Regions from separate parts of the Homo sapiens genome. Here regions 1, 3 and 4 are each linked to region 2. Evidence: promoter capture Hi-C in human tissues and cell types (Jung and others, 2019). All regions are on one chromosome and are shown on one strand. The core of a region is centred on a gene start or on the middle of the fragment in contact, and the rest is flanking DNA. Distances in the headings are between cores, read along the strand shown. Region 1 overlaps BZW1-AS1 (BZW1 antisense RNA 1). Region 2 holds the start of SPATS2L (spermatogenesis associated serine rich 2 like). Region 3 holds the start of LINC01792 (long intergenic non-protein coding RNA 1792). Region 4 overlaps SGO2 (shugoshin 2).

The links. Contacts are between HindIII fragments. The study calls those that stand out against the background at their distance.
Region 1: a contact is called between a fragment that was not itself captured here and the fragment with the promoter of SPATS2L in region 2, in 1 of the 25 tissues and cell types used here (hippocampus).
Region 3: a contact is called between a fragment that was not itself captured here and the fragment with the promoter of SPATS2L in region 2, in 1 of the 25 tissues and cell types used here (hippocampus).
Region 4: a fragment that was not itself captured here is called in contact with the fragment with the promoter of SPATS2L in region 2 in 2 of the 25 tissues and cell types used here (hippocampus and liver).

Annotation. Positions count from the first base shown.
Region 1 is chr2:200,805,427-200,809,144 of GRCh38, reverse strand. All of the region lies in intron 1 of BZW1-AS1 (BZW1 antisense RNA 1), which reads left to right. Among named protein-coding and RNA genes, the nearest start is that of BZW1, 4.6 kb to the left of the region's middle. The HindIII fragment of the contact is 3,486 bases long and covers 1-3,399 here.
Region 2 is chr2:200,305,275-200,308,749 of GRCh38, reverse strand. It overlaps SPATS2L (spermatogenesis associated serine rich 2 like), which reads right to left and starts at 2,057. Exons shown (of 13, transcript NM_001100423.2): 1 at 1,828-2,057. RefSeq lists silencers at 1,093-1,422, 1,443-2,172 and an enhancer at 2,583-2,682. The HindIII fragment of the contact is 4,989 bases long and covers 1-3,475 here.
Region 3 is chr2:200,735,104-200,738,622 of GRCh38, reverse strand. It overlaps LINC01792 (long intergenic non-protein coding RNA 1792), which reads left to right and starts at 3,446. Exons shown (of 3, transcript NR_037886.1): 1 at 3,446-3,519. It also overlaps the pseudogene AOX3P-AOX2P and the pseudogene AOX3P. The HindIII fragment of the contact is 3,272 bases long and covers 597-3,519 here.
Region 4 is chr2:200,578,721-200,582,161 of GRCh38, reverse strand. All of the region lies in intron 8 of SGO2 (shugoshin 2), which reads right to left. Among named protein-coding and RNA genes, the nearest start is that of AOX1, 5.6 kb to the left of the region's middle. The HindIII fragment of the contact is 7,879 bases long and covers 1-3,441 here.

The sequences.
Region 1 (3,718 bases), core at 407-2,906, 500 kb before region 2:
TGGATGTGAACACATTCCTTCTTTGTAATTGGGCTACAGGCATGAGCCACTGAGTCTGCTAATTTTTTTTTTTTTTTTTTGGTGATGATGGGGTTTTGCTTTGTGGCCCAGGCTGGTCTCAAACTCCTGGCCTTAGGTGAGCCTCCCGCCTCAGCCTCCCAAAGTGCTGAGATTATAGGTGTGAATCATCACGCCTAGCCTTGCCCAGTTTTATGGTTGTTTTGGGAAAAAGGATATGCTGATTTCTTCACTCTGCCATTGCTGTGAATCCCCCTTAGTACTTTTGGATTTAAAAATTTTGAACTACTTAAAAAGAAAGGTGCTAAGTGCAACATGTGAATGTGCTACTGCTTTTAACTTCATTGATGGGAATGGATACCTAAGTGTTTCTTTTTTAAAAGCAAGTGACAATAGGTTTTTATTCCTAACAACTAGAAGAATATCAAGGGCCTGTTTTGAAAAGCACATTGTTGCCCTTGGAAAATGAGCTGGGGGAAGTATTTATTCCTATGCTTTGAGTCTTGTAGAAGCTTATAGAACATCCTATGAACCTGGCTTAAATATTGTAGCATATGTATATGAAATACTTCTAGTTACACACACCTATATATGTATGCATATATTTATGTATGTATGTGTGGCCAGAAGTATTTTCATAGGCTCCACAAAATTTTTACAGTGAAAAAGCTTTGAGGTACAATGAGCTTTTAAATAATTTCATTTTAGGTAAAAAATGTGTTAAATATCATTCACTTGCTACATATCTCATATATACCATTTCTTTTACTTCTTCATAGAATTATTTTAATAGTTATAATTATTAATAATATTTGACATAATCAAGATAAAAAGCATTGCTTAGTTACATTAACATTTTAGTAATATTTGTTAAATAAATACCCTCTTTTAGCAAACACACTCTATTATTTAGATTTTAGTTTTTTTTTTTTTTTTAATAGAGACAGGATCTGGTTATGTTGCCCAGAATGACCTCCAACTCATGGGCTTTAGCAATCCTCCCACCTCTGCCTCTCAAAATGTTGGGATTTATAGGCGTGAGCCACCACACCTGGACTCGATTTTTGAATAGGCCGAAATAATTGGGAAGCTTAGGGATTCAAGAAATTTGGCATACATGCATTTTCTGTTTCTCTCTCTCCCCTCTTAACATCAGAATAATGACAGGTTAAGGTGAAAACTCTTTGCTCCTGTAAAGTGCTTGTTCAGAATATAGTTTGAAGTGAGTTGCCAAATAAGTGATATTTGGGGTGATTTAAATATGTGCATTCTAAGTTATATAGCATTCAAGACATTCATTAAAACGAAGCAAAATAAAAACCAACAAGAGAACAGTGTAATGGCATGTGGTATGTTAGCTATAGGATTGTTTAGAAAAAACTGTTTACTGCTTATTATTAATAGTTCATATCTCCTAGAATATTACTGCAGAACTGAAGATTAAGAAATGTTACTAAGAGGCCGGACGTGGTGGCTCACGCCTGTAATCCCAGCACTTTGGGAGGCCGAGGCGGGCGGATCACGAGGTCAGGAGATCGAGACCATCCTGGCTAACACGGTGAAACCCCGTCTCTACTAAAAATACAAATTAACCGGGCGTGGTGGCGGGCGCCTGTAGTCCCAGCTACTCAGGAGGCTGAGGCAGGAGAATGGTGTGAACCCGGGAGGCAGAGCTTGCAGTGAGCCGAGATCCCGCCACTGCACTCCAGTCTGGGCGACAGAGTGAGACTCCGTCTCAAAAAAAAAAAAAAAGAAATGTTACTAAGGACGCCAGATCCAAACATCTCTGTGTTGGAAAATTATCTCCAATGCATAACGGTTTCCTTGGCATATTTAGATGGCCATCTTTCTTTGATGTCTTTTTTAAAACCTACATTTCATTTTTTGGGAGCCTCAGTGCGATGGAATTTTTTTTTTTTTTTTTTTGAGACGGAGTCTCTCTCTGTTGCCCAGGCTGGAGTGCAGTGGTGCGATCTTCACTCACTGCAACCTCCGCCTCCCGGGTGCAAGCGATTCTCCTGCCTCAGCCTCCTGAGTAGCTGGGATTACAGGTGCGTGCCACCACCCCTGGCTAATTTTTGTATTTTTAGTAGAGACGGGGTTTCACCATGTTGGCCAGGCTGGTCTCAAACTCCTGACTTCAAGTGATCCGCCGGCCTCAGCCTCCCAAAGTGCTGGGATTACAGGTGTGAGCTGCCGCGCCCAGCTGATGGAAAGTTTTTATTTAAGATGAAAAAGCAACTAAACTAAATAGAACTTAATCACTGCCTTATTGCTATTATTAGTAGTACTACTGCTATTACTTGGTATGTACTACTATTAGTAGTAATAGAGTGGTCACAGTAGACCTTAAATTTATAGAGGATGTTACTGTTTACAAAATATTTTCACATGCATTTTATAATTCTTCACAGAAACTTTGTGAGAAAGTAAGGCTGCCTTGCTTTCAAAGCAAGCTAACTATAGATAGAATTGATGATTATTAGTCTTCCAGAACAAGGCCATGGACTACCATTAAGTAAACTTAATGTCAATTTATCTGATAAGAAAAAGTGGAACCTTTTTTCTAATGATACATTTCAGGTCCTACTCTTAAAAAGCAGTCTTGGAAGATTTCCCAGATCTTTCTGGGATAAAATTAGTTTTCTTTAAAAAAGCAGTTTCATTTTCCAGAACTTAACCAGTATAGAAGGCTTTAGCATCAGAGAACTTTATACAATAAGGCTTGCCCAGCACAGAGATCCTTAGCACTAGGTGACTAGTTATAGTAAGTGCTGAAATGAAATTCTCTGTTAGTTCTCTATACCTGTGCTTTGAATTCAACTCACATTTTTCAATACCTAAATGCCACGAAGAACTTTCAGAACCTAAGCGTGTTAGGCCGTTCTTGTGTTTCTATAAAGAAATACCTGAGGCTGGTGCGGTGGCTCAGGCCTGTAATCCCAGCACTTCGGGAGGCAAAGGCAGGCGGATCATGAGGTCAGGAGATGGAGACCATCCTGGCTAACACGGTGAAACCCTGTCTCTATTGAAAATACAAAAAATTAGCCAGGCGTGGTGACACGCACCTATATTTCCAGCTACTGGGGAGGCTGAGGCAGAAGAATCGCTTGAATCCAGGAGGTAGAGGTTGCAGTGAGCTGAGATCACGCCACTGCACTCCAGCCTGGGCAACAGAGTGAGACTCTGTTTCAGAAAAAAAAAAGAAGAAGAAGAAGAAATACCTGAGGCTGCGTAATTTATAAAGAAAAGAGGTTTAATTGGCTTATGGTTCTGCAGGCTGTGCCAGTGTGGCACGAGCATTTGCTTTCAGGTGAGGGCTTTGGGAAATTTACAATCATGGCAGAAAGTGAAGTGGGAGCAGGGACATCACATAGTGAGAGTGGGAGCAAGTGTGAGTGAGGTGGGAGGTGCCACACACTTTTAAACAACCAGATCTCACGGGAATTCAGAGTGAGAACTTACTTATTACCAAAGTGTTGGTGCTAAAGCACTCATGAGGGATCCGCCTCCACGATCCAATCACCTCCCACCAACATTGGGAAATACATTCAACATGAGATTTGGGAGGCGAGAAACATCCAAACCGTATCACCAGGTAAAAAGGGCTATAAAATACCATTAAGAACATTGGGGTTTCATGACTTCAGAAATTTTAAGAATTTCTTGCCTAGGAAGAACAATGTACAAGCAACAGATT
Region 2 (3,475 bases), core at 808-3,307:
TTCCCAGATGTTCAGTTTTTACTAACGTCTTTAGCTATTCTCTGCATTCAAGTGATTGTATTTTTATGCAAATTATCTTTTGGGGCTAGTCTCTAGTTTGTGTGTCTGTGTGTGTGTGTGTGTGTATTTAAAGCCACACAGATACAGAATTTGACATGTTTTCTGCCACACAGATACAGATTTGACATGTTTTCTGTTCTGCTGCTCCATACAATAGGTTTTAACACAGCTTGAGCTTATTCCAAAACTCTAATTAGAAACTGCAGTATTTGCCTTGTCCAAATAGAAACCCATTCCCAAAGTTGATTTTTCCCCAGTTAAAATTCAACAAAGAATATCATACACAGATATTTTTAAACACGACAGTTACTAGATAAAACTGCCCTATCTAACAACACATTGCTTTCTGGTTAAGCAACACAATTTCATAAGGCCTATCAAATACTTTATCCAGACGGCCACTCTATTTTCAGGGTATTGGTTGTATTATTTGAAGTCTTTTTTTTTTTTCAGAGTGAAGAGATTTCTGACTTCCTGTCCTCTTCCCTGCTATATTACATACATCTGCTTAAACTCTGGAAAACAGTACCAGTCAAAGTGGTGCTGAAACCTTCCTTTAAGACAAACTAAAACGATGTTAAAAAGGTTACACGACCTTACTATTTCAAGTACTGGTATAAAACCACTTTCTCTGCACAGGTTCTAAAATTTCACAGTCGTTTGTCTTAAAGTCTGTCGGCTTGTGAGGGGGCTGGTACATATTTTAATATTTAAATTTCAAAAAATAAGCAATGAGACTGTGTTTGAAGTTCAAGGGTTTTCACTAGTTCTCAAGCTACAAACCCTGTAATATAGCCAAAAGAAAACGTACAGAAAGAATCTTTCACGAAAAGTGTCAGGTCTCCAAAACCCCGACATCTGCTAAAACCAGGATTGCGGGGGGGATGAGAAGCTCGTGAAGTTCAAAAACACACCAACCCCGCGGGAACACGAAACCTCCACTCGCGAAGACGCGACGCTTCCGCCGCATCCCCGCGCAGGTGAAGACTCGGCCCTTCAGCCCCGCGTGTGCGGCAGCATGATATTCAGAGTGCGCCGGCGTCCAGCGCGAGCGCATCCTACGACAACCCCGTCTCCCGCTGGGGTCCGCAGCCCGCGGACTCCGGGGTCCCCCCGCCCAAATGCGGCGGCGCGACCGCTTCGTCCCGCGGCCAGGGCGCTCCGCGTCTGCTCCGGCCACCCCAGCCCACCCGCGCAGCGCGGACGCCAACGCATCCCACTCCCGCTGGGCGCCAGGGGCGCGGGGTTCAGTGGGGCCGCGGCCCCCGCACCCGGCTGGGATCCGAGGGCGGGGTGGTCGCGGCTGACGTGGGCTTTGCGGCTCCGGGCCAGAGAGCAGCCTGGGGGACGGTGGGTCTCTTTCCGGCTTGGGAGGGAACGGGGGCGCCCGCGCGGGAGGACGGCAGGCGAGGGACGGCGGCCGCGGGCGATTCAGATCCGGGGCGGGCGGGTACACGTCGGAGCGCGGCGGCCACACGCTCGCCCGGGGAGCGCCACTGTGCGTCCCAGCCGGCGCCTCCTCCCGCTTGCCCGCGCCGGCTGGAGAAAGGAAGGACGGCGACCTTCGCGTCCGGTCCGCGCCACCAGCCCGCCTCGGCGCCGAGCGCGGGCCACACCCAGCGCTCCGGGAGGCGGCGGAGGCTGGGCGGCCCGGGCTGCGGAATGCTCGGCCCAGCCGAGTCTCCGTCCCGGCCGCGCAGGCCCCTCCGCGTCCGCCCGCGCCCTGCATCCCCAGCCGGCCCGGCGTGGAGGGGGTCCTGGGCTTACCTCTGTGTCGAGCGCCGGCTCCTCCGTCCCGGGCCGGAGCCGGGGCCCGGGGGCGCGGTCGCCAGGGGAGGCGCCGCGGCGGTGGCGGCCCCTGCGGCTCGGAGGGCGGGCCGAGCGGGAGCCGCTGCCTGGGCCGCGCGCCGTCCGGAGCTCGCCCCGCGCTGCCGGCGCTTGCAGCGGAGGGCGCAGCCAGCTCGGCCCCCGGACTGGATTCCTTCACTGACACAACTCCGGCTCGGCCGCCCCACGCAGGGACACTCCCGCCCCTCGCAGGCTGCCCCCGCCCGCCGACCCGCCCGCCTTCCCCTCGGTGTCACTCACCAGGAGCACACACCCCAGCCGGCGCCCCTCGCTCCCGCTCGCAAACACAGCGCTGCTCACGCCTCTCTCGGGTTTTGTATCCGCTCACACGCACGTTCTGACACAGATCTCGTCCCTCCACACGCCCTCCCTAGCTCCTTTCCCACCCCACTTTCTAGAAGAATCCCAGTACAGCTTCCGCACTTTGCTTGCTTGCTCCAGACCGACTTCCTCGCCTTTCCCCAAACCTCCACTTCACCGAAACTCCCCTTGTTAATGAAAGATTTTGTCACAATCCGCACGTGTTGCAAGAGAATCATCTTCTCCTACCCGAGAAAATGAACTTTGCTCCCTCAGCACTGTCTGCAAATACGAGATGTTTTTCCTTTTAGAAGGTAGTAATGCTTTCTGGAGAGGATCCAAGCTCAAAATGTAAGCAAAGATAGCCCATTCGAAAATGACCTGAAAAATCAGGCGCGGAAAAAGTGCTGGAGCTCGGGTCAGCCCTTGGAAACCCGACCAACCCGGGGTGTTCCGCCGCCTCCTCTGCGCTGCGGGTCTGCACACTGGGCTCCAAACGTGTGTGTAATAACCAAGTTACACATGGGCATCGTGGGCTTCAGCCGTGGGTTTCTGCCTGGGAGTACAGTAGTCGGGAGAGTAAAAGCAGTTTCTCAATCATTATTCATGATGGAAGCACTTTAGATAACACTCTTCTTCCAGAGGCAGTAGAGTGAAATGCAGGCAGCTCTCCAATTCAGGTTTTTATTTATTTATTTATTTATTTATTTATTTAGAAGGGTGACTTCTTAGCTTCCTTTTTTTTTTTTTTTTTTGGCAATACCAATAACTGTTTCTGAGTGGCTCCTTGGCTGTCAAGCTCCTTACAAATATCAGACCAGAGTTTGTTATGCTTCTCGAGCTCCAGACTCTAATGGGCCTCCGAGGGCACTGCAGAATCGTACATAATCCGATGTTCAGGAATTCATAATTTGAAATAAAATACAAACACCTTTCGGATAAAGTTCAAATCTGCTAACATAATGTGGCCCTGTTGACAACGCACTGCTGAAATAAAGAGAGGAGCTAAAACGAAAGGAATTCATTTTCTTATGTGACTTGGAGTGGTTCTTGCTACCTTATAGTCGCCTTGGATTGGTGTGTGGATAATATAATTTATTTAACAGACATTAGCAAGTGCTTTATAAGTACTAGCTCATTTAATCCTTGGAAGAACCCCATCAGGTAGGTACTACTTTTGTCCTGTTTTACAGATAAACTGAGGGCTGGGCCCAGTGGCTCACACCTGTAATCCCAACACTTTCGGAGACCGAGGTGGGCAAATCTC
Region 3 (3,519 bases), core at 983-3,482, 430 kb before region 2:
AGCAGCTGAATTGTAATCATGGCACCAGGACCTCAGTGTTTGGCCAGTGCAGTGAGTATCCACATTGGCTCACAGAGAGTCGCTGGGAACTCAAAAACAGCACAGATGCCCCACTCCCAGATCAATTCAATTAGAATCTCTGCTGCCTTTTTTTTTTTTTTTTTTTTTGAGACAGAGTCTTACTTATTGCCCAGGCTGGAGTGCAGTGGTGCAATCTTGGCTCACTGCAACCTCCATCTCCCAGGTTTAAGCAATTCTCATGCCACAGCCTCCCAAGTAGCTGGGATTACAGGCACCTGCCATAGCCCTGGCTAATTTTTTTTTTTTTTAGACAGAGTTTCGCTCTTGTTGCCCAGACTGGAGTGCAATGGCGTGATCTTGGCTCACCTCAACCTCCGCCTCCCAGGTTCAAGCGATTCTCCTTCCTCAGCCTCCTAAGTAGCTGGGATTACAGGCATGCGCCACCATGTCTGGCTAATTTTGTATTTTTAGTAAAGACGGGGTTTCTCCATATTGGTCAGGCTGATCTCGAACTCCTGACCTCAGGTGATCCTCCCACCTCGGCCTCCCAAAGTGCTGGGATTACAGGCGTGAGCCACCTGCGCAGCCTAATTTTGTATTTTTAATAGAGACGGTGTTTCACCATGTTGGCTAGGCTGGTCTCGAACTCCTGACCTCAAGTGATCTTCCTGCCTTGGCCTCCCAAAGTGCTGAGATTACAGGCGTGAGCCACTGCGCCCAGCCTGGATCTCTGCAGATTTTTAAAAGGCTTCAAGGTGTTTTTACACAGCCAGAGTGAGATCTCCTGGGCTGGTCCACATTCTTCTTTTGACAGACACAAGGAAATAGAGGCTAGAGAGAAGGAATGACAGCAAAAACTTGCAGGTGGCAGACCTTACCAGAATTTTCCATGACCTCCTCCTGACTGATTGTGGTGAAGCTATGCAAAGTTGCTTTGTGATTAAGGGGGATAAATCGAATGGCATTACAATAAGGCAAAGGTCATTCAATTCCCCAGGTTGTTGTCTAAAATCTGTAATGCTTGGATTTCAGGTTTTGCACCCGATACTCAAAATCTTCAACAATCAGTTTTGTGAGGGGCACTGGTCAATTGGCCCATGTAAGGAGCTGCCCCAGCCATTTATGTTGAGCGTTACTGGGTATGAGGAAGTTGGGGGCTCCTGGGAAGGGTCCAGGGAAGTAATGGGAGAGCATCTAGCGATCGAAGTAATGCTATTTGCTAACTGGCAAGGAAATAATTCAAAATTTCAACCAACTTTGGAGCCATAAGTTGTGAGTATTGGCAGGATATTAGCATGAGCTTCAGGGTTTTTCTTCAGTAAGGATGAAAGGGTTCAAATCAGTCTTAAAAAGTGAAGTAGTCACCCAAACCCCCAGGAGATGAGTTAGGCAGCCTTTTAAAATTAATCCTTCACACCCGGGGTTTGCAGAATGAAACACTAACGTAGAGTGACTTGACATTACTAGCTGGGCTGGTTCTAATTGCAGTTAGTCTGTTTTTATCAGGTTGGGCTTTGATTTATCTCTTGTTGACTAATCTTTGAGAATATTTCACCCTCCTACATAGCTGTATTTTATCAATATTAAGAATGTACTTGGCATGACACCTCCCCCACCTTGCCAGCATACTCATGCAACACCCCGCTGCCTCAGTAATCTCAGCTAATTTAGTTGATAAGGGAACCATGAGCTGCTCCTTGTTATCCTTATGCTAAACAAATCTAAACTATCCCTCCCCGCTGGAATGTCTCAGCCTGGAGTTCTCACCCTGTTTCTGTTTTAGCGTCTCCTAAAATGTACTCTGTAACAGGGGATCTAATTTCATCCCAGACCCATCAGTGATGGTCTGTTGCTTCCTTATCACAGGTTTCAGTGGAGCCTGTTTTTTAACTTCTGGAAGGTCCTGGCCTGCCTTATCGTTGCAGGAGTACTAGGAAAATCAAGCTTTTTTTTTTTTTTTTTTTTTTTTCAGTCATACAATTCCTTCTCCCTAAGGAGAAGACCCAGAGCCTTATTAGTGGAGGAGAAACCAGAAACAAAAAAACATAATTATTATTAAGGTCAGAAGCATCACATAGACCAGCATCACCACCTCTTATTTGACACAGAGGGAAAAGGGCAGTTCAACCCCAGTGGGGATTGAAGTATCCCTGTCTGCTCTATTGCCTGAATCCTCATAAGAGTTCAAACACAGTTTGAAGCCAAATAACTCCATTTCCATTGCACACATCACCATGTCACCTCATGCTAGGCACGACACACCTTCTGCCAGGCTATACTGAGAACATTCTACTTAATGTGGTTCTATTCATATTTTATTCCATCTCTGGTCACAAAATCTAGGTTTCTTCCAATGCAAGTGAAAAGAACTTCAACTTTGATTCTCAGAAAGGGCATTTCAGTGGAACTCTATGCTTTTCAGAGTTCATGGGTCTATGAGGTAAACATGCAATGACTTTCTGGAGCACTCACTATACTAAAGATTTTGAGAAAACAAATGTATACTGAGCCAAACATGTAGGTCATATGATTGAGCATGCAAACCTTAAACAAATGTTTAAGTCAAAATTACAGCTGTGCAAAAATGTATTTCCTGGGTGTGCTGGTGGGGAACACATCTGGCTCCAGTACATCCCACCCCTGCCAGTGTCCTTCACTCATCTGGGACTTAGGAAAAGTTCGAGAATCGTGGAAACTTTCCTGCAAGCCACTAGAGGGTACTCATGCTTTAATTTTAAGAGCCCTAAAGGAAGGCGCATTGTTTGTTTTAGCTCTGCTTTGCAGAGACCAAACTGAGCAGTTAACTCACATAGCTAATTGGACAGGCTGTGGGGTGGACCTGAGGGGTAGAATGGCAGTAACAAAAAGAGTGTTGGCCAGGCGCAGTGGCTCACGCCTGTAATCCCAGCACTTTGGGAGGCTGAGGCGGGTGGATCACGAGGTCAAGAGATCGAGACCATCCTGGCCAACATGGTGAAACCCTGTCTCTACTAAAAATACAAAAATTAGCTGGGCGTGGTGGCGCACACCTGTAGTCCCAGCTACTCGGGAGGCTGACGCAGGAGAATTGCTTGAATCTGGGAGGTGGAGGTTGCAGTGAGCTGAGATTGCACCACTGCACTCCAGCCTGGCGACAGAGCGAGAGTCTGTCTCAAAAAATAATAATAATAATAAAAAATAAACAGAAAGTTTAATGAGGAACAATATATTTACATAGTTTCAAAGTATCTCCCCACAGAATATTTATTAACTACAGAAGGAGAAAAACCACCTCACTGTGGAGAGTCCTGGTAGACACCATCTTAACCAAGTGGGACATGTTGAAGTCATGTGTCACCTGGCAGGATGCCATGAGGGGAACACAGAGTCACTTTTGTAATATTCTGACAAAGACTCATAACATCGATCTAACCACGACAAAACAATAGACAAACTCAAAATGGGAGACATTGGACAAGATAACTGGCCAAACTCTTCCGAAGTGTCAAAGTCATGATG
Region 4 (3,441 bases), core at 673-3,172, 270 kb before region 2:
AAGGTATGTTTTTTAGTATTTTACCCAATAATTTTATTTTTTCAGTAAGAGGGTAGATTCCTGCACCTAATACATCATGTTTCAAGTTATGGAGTTTAGTTATATTTTACATGCATGTGTGTAAATGTGGTTTTTAGATGAAATACATAGACATGGTCCCAAATTTAAAAAGGTATACAAGATTAGGTGGAAAGGTCTCTTTCACTCCTTCGTACTCCTCTTCAGAGCCAGTGTGATACCACTGCCTTGGGTAATTAGATAGAGTTTAATTAATCCTTTCAAAAGAAGTACCTATTCTAAATAAAACACAGCAAAATGCTGTAAGGAAATAAGGTTCTATTTTAGTTTAAATGTACAGTGCATGCAGATGATTTGCTATACAGCTTAGTTGGTAAAATTTTTAAAAGCAAAAGCCACAACATTCAGTATAAATTCCGAGTGATGACCATCCAGTTGCCACTTTTTTTTCTTCCTTCTTTTTGGATTGGAAATGGTATACACTAGGTATATCACAGCTTCTAGTAGCTCCCATGAAAGTACATCCTAATTAAAGCTGCTTGCTATTATGGAATGATCATCATAGGTATTGAAGATAGGAGTGGTAGGAGTTATCAGGAAGGTCTCATAAATATGTTTTTAAAGTCTTTATATCTTAAAGACTTTAAGTCTTTAGTCCAGAGCACTGAACATGACAAATGAGGACATTTTTAATATAATAAAGGCCATAATCCAAAATGAATAAGTAATAATCATGATATTTACATAGCAAAAAGCAGAGCAACCACCCTTCTGAAGCAAAAACTACAGGAGATACATGGAAACACAGGACACAGTAGATTTTAATATACAACTCTTAGTATAACCTTAGTACAAAACAGATCACTTATTTACAAAAAATAAGAAACAGAAGATCTAAGCAACATAATAAATACAGTAAATCTCATGGATATATATCAAACTTTAGACCTTGATTATGGAGAATATACATCTAAGCAATCACAGCACAGTTATAAATGCTGATCCTATAGTAGGTCACAAAGAAAATACTGGCAATTTCCATAAAGCAGAAATATTACAATAAATAATTTCTGACCAAAATGCAATAAAACTAGATTTACAAATAAAAACAAAAAACCAGAAAGGTTCATCTACCTGGAATTTTTAAAACCTCCTAATAACTCCTAAAGAAAAGGAGAAACTTAAAAACGACATTGAAAACACTATGTATCAGAATCAAGATACATTGAAAGCACTGATCAGAGAAAAATTGATTGCAAAAGACACTTTAAAAAAAAATTTTTTTGTGTGTGTTCTATTTACTTATTTTTATTTTTAATTTTTTGAGTCAGGATCTTTCTCTGTGCAGTGGCACAATCATGGCTCACTGCAGCCTTGACCTACCAGGCCCAAACTATCCTCCCACCTCAGCCTCTCTAGTAGCAGCTGGGACTACAAGCACATGCCAATGTGCCTGGCTGATTTTTAAATTTTTTGTAGAGTGAGCGTCTCCCTGTGTTGCCCAGGCTGGTCTCCGACTCTTGGGCTCAAGTGATCCTCTCACCTCAGCCACCCAAAGTATTGGGATTACAGGTGTGAGCCACTGTGCCTGTCCATAAAACACTGTTATCTATATAAATGAAAGAATAAAAACAATAAATTTTAATGGGAAAACAACAATAATAAAGTAAATCAAAGAAAACACAAAGAAGGAAATAATAAATATGAAGCAGAAGTCAGTGAAGTAGAGAACAGAAAAATAGATCCAATTAGTAAATCAAAGTACTGATTTTTTGGAAAAGTTAATAAATAAACTACTACCTAATTTGATCAAGAAAAAGAGAAAAAGAACAAACACAAAAAATAATAAATGATATAGGTAAAATAATTATGGGAAAAAAGATTTAAAATTAATTTACATGTCTAATTCATAAAAGATACTTTGCAGACTTTTATGCAAATAAATTTGAAATCTTAGATGAAATGGATAATTTCCTGTGGAAATACAAATAACAAAAATTGACCCCATTACAGCAAAAAAGCTTAAACAGACTAATTTTCATACACACAAAAAACAGTCAACGTTATTAAGGAACTATCCCACACAAAACAGTACTAGGTCCAGATGGTTTCAGAGGGGGATGCTAACAAACTTACAAAAACCAGAGAGTCCCACTGTTCTAAAATTATATAAGTATATAACATACAAATAATTATAAACATAAATTATAATGCACTATAAATTATAATGAAATATAAATTATTTCATTAAAGGAACCAAGATGGTGACTTTCTTGATTCCCTTAATATGATACCTAGGCCAGATAAAGACAATTCAAAGGTGGGTAACTATAGACTCACATCAGTTATGAATGTTGATATAAAAATTCTAAACAAAATATTTTGGCAAACTCAATTCAACATCACATTATGAAAAACATACTCCGTGATCAAGTGAGATTTATTCCAGGAAAGCAAGGTTAGTTCGGTACTGGAAAACTCATCAACAGATGCCATGTTAATACATGTAAGTAAATGAAGTATATTACTATCTTCATAAATGCTGAACAAGCCTTTGACAAAATTCAACAATCATTCATGATAAAAACACTCAATAGGCATCAAGGGGCATTTTCTTAGTAAATTATGTACATATCTTAATCCTACAGCAAGTATCTTGTTTAATGGAGAGACAAAAATACTTCAACAGAAGCATTTCTACTAAAATCAGGAACAAGGCAAGCATGCCTACTATTCCTGCTACTATTTTAACATTGTACCTGAGTTATTAGCCAATGCTAATATAAAAACAGTAAGAGGCATACAAACAGGGTAATGAAGTAAAACTATCTCTATTTTCAGATGATATCATACTATACCTGGAGAACTCAAGACAATCAGTGAGATAAGAGAATAACAGAGTTCAGAAAGTAACAAGATATAAACTGACACAGAATTCAACAGCTTTCATATATACGAACAACATTGGGCATCAGTTACATGTCCATATATAATAGCAACAAAGAAAACTAAATACTTATAGACCAGTGGTTTTCAACTCAGGATGCTTTTGCCTCCCAGTTGAAATTTTGCAACATATGGAGACATTTTTGGTTGTTATAAATGTGAGGGTGCTACTGACATCTAGTGGATGGAGGTCAGGGATACAGCTAAACATCCTACAATACACAGGACAGCCTCCCATAAAAGAGAAATACCTAGCCCCAAAGGTCAACAGTGCCAAGGTTATGAAACCGAGCCAGACAAGTCAATACCATCCTAAGATTCATTTGTAACAACAAACATTCAAGAACAGTGAGGGAAACAATGAAAAAGAAAAACCATGAGAGGATACTAGCCCTACCAGACATTAAAACATACTATAGATCCTCTACAATAAACAAGGAGACCACTGGCAAAGGTGATGAGATGTCTCACTTCCGA